Regions from separate parts of the Homo sapiens genome. Here all the other regions are linked to region 1. The links are contacts of gene promoters, found by promoter capture Hi-C in blood cells and fetal thymus (Javierre and others, 2016). All regions are on one chromosome and are shown on one strand. Each heading gives the region's core, a stretch centred on a gene start or on the middle of the fragment in contact. The rest is flanking DNA. Distances are from core to core; before and after follow the strand shown. Region 1 holds the start of EIF5 (eukaryotic translation initiation factor 5). Region 2 has its middle 3.9 kb from the start of HSP90AA1. Region 3 holds the start of ZNF839 (zinc finger protein 839).

The links. The method cuts DNA at HindIII sites, captures the fragments that hold promoters and counts their contacts. A CHiCAGO score of 5 or more calls a contact.
Region 2: a fragment that was not itself captured here is called in contact with the fragment with the promoter of EIF5 in region 1 in 1 of 17 cell types (activated CD4 T cells); the score reaches 5.8 in activated CD4 T cells.
Region 3: a contact is called between the fragment with the promoter of ZNF839 here and the fragment with the promoter of EIF5 in region 1, in 5 of 17 cell types (naive CD8 T cells, total CD4 T cells, monocytes and 2 more). The highest score is 9.8, in naive CD8 T cells.

What each region holds. Positions count from the first base shown.
Region 1 is chr14:103,332,743-103,335,583 of GRCh38, forward strand. It overlaps EIF5 (eukaryotic translation initiation factor 5), which reads left to right and starts at 1,495. Exons shown (of 12, transcript NM_001969.5): 1 at 1,495-1,518; 2 at 1,647-1,855. It overlaps EIF5-DT (EIF5 divergent transcript), which reads right to left and starts at 1,918. Exons shown (of 1, transcript NR_158216.2): 1 at 1-1,918. RefSeq lists an enhancer at 951-1,070 and silencers at 1,391-1,810, 1,951-2,000, 2,111-2,350. The HindIII fragment of the contact is 3,190 bases long and covers 1-2,841 here.
Region 2 is chr14:102,089,479-102,092,319 of GRCh38, forward strand. It overlaps a transcript of HSP90AA1 not described here. Among named protein-coding and RNA genes, the nearest start is that of HSP90AA1, 3.9 kb to the left of the region's middle. The HindIII fragment of the contact is 179 bases long and covers 1,396-1,574 here.
Region 3 is chr14:102,318,265-102,321,105 of GRCh38, forward strand. ZNF839 (zinc finger protein 839) reads left to right here and starts at 1,482. Exons shown (of 8, transcript NM_018335.6): 1 at 1,482-1,789. The coding sequence starts at 1,502. RefSeq lists silencers at 1,542-1,641, 1,702-1,891 and an enhancer at 1,992-2,101. The HindIII fragment of the contact is 5,518 bases long and covers 1-2,841 here.

The DNA of each region.
Region 1 (2,841 bases), core at 245-2,744:
CTCTCGCTCCATCAGTCAAGTGAGGTCTTCAAACTTCAGGGTGAACTATGGATGTGTTTTTAAGACTCAAGTTTTCACAAAAAAAATCCAAGTTTCAGAAAGAATGGGAGAGTTTCAACAGAACTAAAATATGAGAGCCTCTCTCTAAATAATAAAAATTTTCTTTTTTTTTTTTTTTGGAGACAGTCTCGCTCTGTTGTCCAGGCTGGAGTGCAGTGGTGTGATCTCGGCTCACTGTAACCTGTGCCTCCCGGGTTCAAGGATTCTCCTGCCTCAGCCTCCCGAGTAGCTGGGATTACAAGCGAGCCACCACGCCCAGCTAATTTTTTGTATTTTTAGTAGAGACAGGGTTCCACCATATTGGCCAGGCTGGTCTCAAATTCCCGACCTCAGGTGATCCGCCCACCTCAGCCTCCCAAAGTGCTGGGATTACAGACGTGAGCCACCGCGACCGGCCTAAATAATAGTAATTTTCAACGGAATACATTGGAATCTCATTATAAATGCCTGCTCTGGGCTACGATTTGCTTATCAAAGAATTCACAAGTCATAAACTAGAGGGGGTGGACTCGACGTGATGCCCACTAGGAGAAAGGTGACAAGAGAAGCACGAAGGATAGCGCTTTTCAACCCTGGGAGAGCAGGGAGGCCTTCACCAGAAGGTGGGAACCCACCACGAAGCGCCTTCAGGAGGCCCCAGGATTCCAAACCAATTAAGGGCCTCCTCTTCCGAAAACGGGAGGCGACGCGCTGAGCTAAGCGCGCAGGCTGGGTTGCGGGCCGACACCGAGGCGGCGCGGCCTCGCGACCGCCCTGGGCGGTCACTGGCGAGTCACGGACTCGTTCCGCCAGCGGCCAATCCACCCCGAGTCCGAAACAGAAGACGTCCCTGGGATGAAAGACCCAGGCCTGGGGCTTAAGGTGGAAAAACAACTCATTCCTCGAGGCCCGGAGTCGGGCGTCCCGGGAGAACGGGAAAGGGAGATGAGCGCCCGCTGCGGGGAGAACGCGGTCGGGTTCCTCTCCCCGAAGGTGGCAGCCGCAAAAACACGGCCTCGAAAGCAGTTTCGAGGACGATGGCTCCTGCGTCCCGGGAGTCGCCATGACGCCGCGGCCTGTCCCAGACCCGGCGAGGGAGGGGACCAACCACCATCTCCCCCTCAAGGCCCAAACCGACAAAGAACGGCCCCCGGTACCCCGGCCCCGCCACCAGGGCCACTCCGGGTCTCGCGAGACCCAAGGGCTGCGCCGCGAAGACCTCTGGGAAAGGCGGGGGGAGGGGAGAGGAAGGAAGCGAGACCGGGGCTGGAGGCGGGCCGAGGCCGCGAGTTGAGCCTCAGGAAGCAGAAGGGGCGCGGAAAGATGCGATTGACGTCGCAAGCGAACCAATGACGAGCGAGCTGTGGCAGGCCTCCAGCCAATGGGCAGTGAGGCCTGACGCGGGGGGCGGACGCTGGGGCCGAGGGTAGCTTGAGCGCGGCGGCGGCGTTGTTCAGTCAGAGCGAGAACATTCCAGAGGTGAGTCCGGTGAAGGGGCGGCCCCCTGCCCGGTGCTTCCCGCCCCCTCGACCCCTCGGGCCGCTGGCTGGCGGGGAAGGTGCACTCCCCGACCGCCCACGGCTCACGGCGCCGTCTCTCCGCGCCAGGTCGCCCAGCTCCGGCGCTGACGGGTGTGGACCGCGGACGTCGCTGGGACAGCCCCTCCCCGCTGCTCGGCGGCGGCACCTGGCCCGGCCGCTCCTCGCTGCGCTTCGCCTCCGCCTCCTCGGACTCGGACTCGGGTTTATATCGCGCCTCACTTCATCCCAGTCCCGGGCGAGCAGCGTTGGGTTTATGTCTTTATTTGACGAAAACGGTGAGTCGCGGGCGCGGCGGGCCAGGAGATGGCGGCCGCACAAGATGGCGGCGGCCGCCGCGTGACCCCGCCGCGGCGTGTGGCGCAGTTTGGGCGGACGGCGGGCGGGCGCGGGCCCGGGCGCCGGCCGCCCCCTCCCCGCGCGCTCCCCGGCCCGGCCTCGCCCCCTCCCCGGCATGGCGGGAGCGCGTCGCGCGTGCCCGCCGCTCGGGCTGACTCAGGCTTCAGCTGCTGCATTTGTGAGTCATCGCGCGCTCTGGGGCGGGGGCGGCCCGATCCCGGCACCCCTCGGCCGTGTGTCGCTTCCCGGCTGTGCACCCTCCGGGGCCGCCGGCTCTCGGGGGACGCGCTGGGGATGGGGCCAGACGCCCCGGTCGCGCGCCCCCCTCCTTCGCGGAGCTGCCCGGTTCGCCAGCCCCCGCGGAAACGCCTCGGAGCGCGGTAGCCATGGGGACCAGGGCGAAGGTTAACCGAGTATTTGAATAGCGAGGAAAAGGGAGGCCGGGGCGAGCCTGGCGTTCGCTCGCGCTCTCTTGCTTAATGGCAAATTGTGGGCGAGCGCTGCGTTTAAGGAAGTGCTGCTTTGAAGTAAGCCATGGTTGCCGAAGCAACGATTAGTTGTAGAGAACAGTTCCCTAGGTTGCCCTTAAAAATGAAGACGAACGGGGGTGTGCCTGAGAAGTTTGCTTATCCAGGCGGGGTGGGCGGCGGAGAGGGCTCGGGTTCGTTCTTCAGCACTTCCAGGATGGCCGCAGAGGCAAACCTGCTGATTGCCCTCGGTCTGATGGAATCTCACGGCGGCTGAGGCAGCACAGCTTGTGTTTTCTTGTCAGGCATTTCCCTACCAGTCACAGCTTAGTCGAAATGGAGGCCTTTTTATGTTCCCGCAGATTGTACTGTGTTACATGAGAATGGCTGTTTGCATGTGATCTCAGATGCTTTTTAAGGTGGAGTTAAGCAGAAGCATAACTAGGATGTAAAAAGGA
Region 2 (2,841 bases), core at 235-2,734, 1.2 Mb before region 1:
TGGTTTCTACCATCAACACGCCAGCCCCTGGCTGTTCCTTCTCTCTTCTCAGACTCATGCCCCTCTCCCTGGCACATCACGGAGCTCTTGGAGGTGGGTCTTTGCCCCCAGGAAATCTTGTCCAGCACTCTCACTAATAGAACTTGTGTGCAGATGACTCACGGAAGAGCCCGGCCAGGACTCAGCTCCAGACCTGGATGCTGAGCCTCATGAGCTTCCCCCCTGTCTCCAGCCCTCTTTGAGGGCTCGTTAGCCAGGTCACTGACTATCCCACCTTAAAGAACCCCAAGCATCCCCACAACGGATCTGGCACTGAGTCCTGCCACTTCTGCCTCCTAAGTACCTCTTGAACCCAGCCACTTCCCTCCACCTTCATCCCCCGCTTCCACACAACCGTCAGCTCACCTGGAAGGCCTCCATAACCACCTAACTGCTCCCTGCATATGGTCTGGTCTGTCTCCAAACTGTAGCCAGGGTGAGCTTTGAGAACACAGACCTGGCCCTATCTATTCCCTCCTCCCCACCCTCTGCAAATTCTAGCTGACTTCCCATCCTTCTAGGAGGAAGACAGAGCTCTTTAGGCCTGTGAGGCCCTGCAGGTCGCTGCTGCCTCCCCATACAGCGCCAGTTCCCACTGTGCTCCTATTTCTGTGTCTGGCGCACTCCCCATGACTCGCCCCCACGAGGCTGTGCAAATGCTGTTCCCTCTGCCTGGAACACCATTCCCTCTGTTCTTCTCTAATTAATTTTTAATGGATCTTCTGCTCACACATTTTCTTAGGAACCCCACCTGCCTCCCACCAGGCCAGGTGTCCTGTCATGGAGAGGTTCTCAGAATGTGGTGCCCTCTCCTTCAGAGTACAGACCACATGTGCTCCTCTGCTTCCTCTAGCCCTCCAACCCCAAGTTCTTCCACTCCTGCTTCACCGCCTTTTCTGTCCAGCCTCCTCCTCTTCCTTCCTCAACAACATATTTCTTTTTTTTTTTTTGAGACGGAGTCTTGCTCTGTCGCCCAGGCTGGAGTGCAGTGGTGCGATCTTGGCTTGTTACAAGCTCCGCCTCCCGGGTTCACGCCATTCTCCTACTTCAGCCTCCCTAGTAGCTGGGACTACAGGCGCCCGCCACCACACCTGGCTAATTTTTTGTATTCTTTAAGTAGAGAGGGGGTTTCACCGTGTTAGCCAGGATGGTCTTGATCTCTTGACCTTGTGATCCGCCCGCCTTGGCCTCCCAAAGTGCTGGGATTAGAGGCGTGAGCCACAGTGCCTGGCCTCAACAACGTATTTCTAATAGATCACCAAGCCTTGCAGATTTAGCATCCTAAATATTTGTTGACCTCGTCCCACAGTGATGTTGCTGTTAGGGCAATCTGACCATTTTCCTCCTCTATTTGAAAGCTTTCAGTGTCCCTCAGTAAAGCTGGAGCATGGATTCTGGATCCAGGTGGCCTGGATTCAGATCTTAGCTCAGCCACTGCCTGTGTGACCCAGGGCAAGTCACTTACCCTTTCTATGCATCCAGTTCAGTATCTGTAGCATAGACATGAACATGTCTTCTTCATAGAGTGGTTATGAAGCTTAAATGAGCCACTTCTGGTTTTGGAGATGGCTCAGGTGATAGCCTACCCCATAGCAATTTATGCCCCCTCACTTGCTTGCCAGGCAGCAGGCTAGCTACTTTGCATGCAGTTTCTTAGTCCTCTCGACTCTGAAGTAGGTGTCTTTGGTCCCACTGTACAGTTGAGAACACTGAGGCTTAGGAGAGGTAAGTCCTTTACTCAGGGTCACCCAGAGCAAGGGCCTCCAGGGCAGTTACACCCAGGTCTGGCTCATGATTTTTGTTTTATCCTGATAAACAGTCTCAGCTGGGTGCAATGGCTCACACCTGTAATCCCAGCACTTTGGGAGGCTGAGGCAGACCAATCAATTGAGGTCAGAAGTTTGTGACCAGCCTGGACAACATGGTGAAACCCCATCTCTACAAAAAATACAAAAAAATTTAGCTGGGTGTGGCAGCACACACCTGTAGTCCCAGCTACTCGGGAGGCTGAGGCAGGACAATTGCTTGAACTCAGGAGGCAGAGGCTGCAGTGAGCCGAGATTGCACCACTGCACTCCAACCTGGGCAACAGAGTGAGACTGTCTCAAAAAAACAAACAAACAAAAAAAGAGACAGTCTCACTCTCTTGCCCAGGCTGGAGCACAGTGGCACAAACATGGTTCACTACACCATCAGCCTCCTGGGCGCAAGTGATCCTTCTGCCTCAGCCTCCTGAGGAGCTGGGACCACAGGCATGTGCCACCACACCCAGCTAAATTTTATTTTTTTTGTAGAGATGAGGTCTTGCCATATTACCCAGGCTGGTCTTGAACTCCTGGACTTAAGGAGTCCTCCCACTGTGGCCTCCCAAAGTGCTGGGATTACAGGTGTGAGCCACCACAACTGCCCTTGGCTCATTCATTTTGATACATTTTCTCATTTTCATTCAGCTCAAAATATTTTTAAAATTTCCTTTTATTTCTTGACTCATGGGTTATTTTTACATGTTTTACTTTTCAAATAGTTGGAGGTTTTTCAGATTTTTTTTGTTACTGATTTTTTTTTTTTTGAGACAGTCCCGCTCTGTCGCCCAGGCTGGAGTGCAGTGTCGCGTGCTCTTGGCTCACTGCAACCTCCGCCTCCTGGGTTCAAGCAATTCTCATGCCTCTGTCTCCCAAGTAGCTGGGATTACATGCATGCGTCACCACACCTGGCTGACTTTTTTGTATTTTTAGTAGAGATGGGCTTTCACCATGTTCACCAGGCTGGTCTCAAACTCCTGGCCTCAAGTGATGTGCCTGC
Region 3 (2,841 bases), core at 232-2,731, 1.0 Mb before region 1:
AGTTTCCTGAGCTTGAAGGGGTTTAGAATATGCCACGGTGGCATGAAAATTATTTTGAGCAGAAGGCATGTGAATTCCTGAAATCTGGTCGGGTGTGGTGGCTCACACCTGTAATCTCAGCACTTGGGAAGGCCGAGGCGGGCGGATCACCTAAGGTCAGGGTTTCAAGACCAGCCTTACCAACATGATGAAACCCCGTCTCTACTAAAAATACAAAAATTAGCCAGGCATGGTGGCGGACGCCTGTAATCCCAGCTACTCAAGAGGCTGAGGCAGGAGAACCGCATGAACCCAGGCGATGGAGGTTGCGGTGAGCTGAGATTGTGCCACTGCACTCCAGCCTGGGTGACAGAGTGAGATCTTGTCTCAAAAAAAAAAAAAAATTGTGGTAAGATACCCATAATATAAAATTCACCATTAAAAAATAACACGGAAGGGATCATCGTGAATGCAATGTGAGTATTGATGAGGATGGTGGTGATCTTCCAGAACCTTCTCTGACGCCACCCAGGCCGCCAGCCTTACTTTACCGGCTTCGGCGCTCATCATACTGTGCTGCAAATGCCAGTTTCCTCCTTCCCCCTTGGGAAGTTTCCTCCTTGGGGGTCGGCACCTAGACTGTATACCCCCCAGGGCGGAAACAGCGGTTCACCCACCAGGTGCTTAAGAAGGGTTTGTGGACCAGTGGACCTCCTGCTCTCCCTGGGGAAAGGAGCTGGGACATGTGTACACACCTGCAGCTACAAGATTCGGAGGGCGCACAGAGCCTCAACCGTAAGAAGGAGAGGCGATCAGGCTGAGGAAGATGGGGCAGTGGAGCTGGATGGATAGAGAGAGGGTGGGTTCATTCATTCGTTCACTCATTCGTTTATTCATATTCATCCATCCATCATTCATGCCCTGAGCGTGCGTTGTGTTCTGGGCAGGGCCTGTGCTGGGCACCGATTGTGTAATATATCATCTCTCCCTTCAAGGTGCACCCAATCTGGGTGGGTGGGTAGAGAGAAGCTACGGTGACAAGGCAAAAATTTGGGAAACACTCTCGTTAACAATTCAAACTGTGGTCCCCTCCCAGATGTATAAATCCAAATGTTTAGGGGTGGGCACAGTACTCTGCATCTCCAGACAGCATCCTCCGCTGATTCGGATGCATGATGACGTCAGAACACTTGGATATTGTGGTAACTTTTGGGCCAGGGGCTCTGAAACCCCGAAGACCTCCCCCTGGGAGATCCGGGACAGCTCCCAGAGAAGGTGAGTCTTAAACACATCCGTGACAGGCAATAAGGAAAATAAGGGGGGTCCGCTCTGCTGATCAGCCCTAAGAGCCGCGGCGGTTGTCGGCTGGGGCGGGGCACTCCACGACTTTCCCGGCCAGACACGGTCGCCTTCCTAGGTGTCTTGGCCTGCGAGGCACTCGTAGCCCGCCCCTCTCCTAGGTGACGTACATTGGAGACGCCGTCGCTCAGCGACCCGGGTTCGAGTCCCCGCCTCGGCCGCCATGGCGGATGCGGAGCCGGAGGCTGGGGGCGGCAGCGAGGATGGCGGCGGCGGCGGCGGCCCGGCTCCTCCGGGCCAGAGCGGCAGCGTCGCACGTGTGGCCCCGCTGGGCCCCGAGCAGCTGCGGCAGGTCCTGGAGCAGGTGACGAAGGCGCAGCCGCCGCCGCCGCCGCCCCCCTTCGTGCTGCGGGACGCGGCGCGGCGGCTGCGGGACGCGGCCCAACAGGCCGCCCTGCAGCGGGGCCGGGGCACCGAGCCCCCGCGCCTGCCGCGCCTGCTCCCGCCCCAGGTGAGGCGTCGGGAGGGACGTGGGGAAACTGAGGCCCGAAGGGGGCCGACGCCCCGCGGCGGGGTAGCTGCTTGTCCGGGGAGGCCAGTATCCGCCCGGGTTAAGACTCAGGGCGTCCCCAGGCTGAGCTTCTTAGGGACGGCGTTCGGCCCCCACCTGTCACCACCCTGGCATTTTCACCCCAGGAGCCTCACTCTAGGAGCGGTTGCTCACGCTGGGCCCTGTGCCTGGAACGCCCTCGTGCCTTCTCTGCCTTCACAGCCCTGCTGGGGGCTTTTGCGTGCTCCCTAGCTCTTCTTACAGGCCTTTCACCGCTGGTTCAGCCTTTGTGGAGCACTTAGAGACCGTGTTCCCAGCACTCCCCACTATGTGCAGGAGGTGAAGCCTTGAACACACTTGCTGAAGAACGAACATAAGGCAGGTTCTGGGATTGACGGGGGCTGCTTTAGAGTGGGTGGTCCCGTAGGCCAGACACTGGAGCTGAAACATAAATGAATTAAAAGGAACCAACTTAGCTTTTCAGTTGTAAGGTGCCAAGGCCCAGGCTTGGAACAAAGTCAAGCACAATACACTAGTTCGCTGCAGGACTTAACATCCTGGGTGATAGTGACTGATTTGTAACCGCAGTACCCAGCACAGTGCCTGATACACAATGTTTGGAATATGTGAAAGCACTCTGTATACTACAAAACATCCTTTCCCAGTGGGTTTATTTCCTGGGCCACACACCTTTTGGTTGCTAGGGGGGTGATAACTAGAAGACGGTCGCCCAACTCCGGAGGGTGAAGCATAGCGCCTGAAGCCAGAGGGCCTACACGGCATCTGTAAAATTCCACCCCATTTCAGCGCTGGGGTTGTAAACAAAATTAGTCTCACCCCAAAATTGCCAAAAGAAGACAGCTTTTTCCACTAGAAGAAACGGGTTAGGGAATAGAATCAGGAACCTTCACTCGTTGAGTTTTTTTGACTGATGTTAGCTGCTTAGGGTTGTATCCAGTTAATCATCAAGACTGGAGAGTTGTCTTGCTAAGGTTTAGGAAGACCAGTGTGAT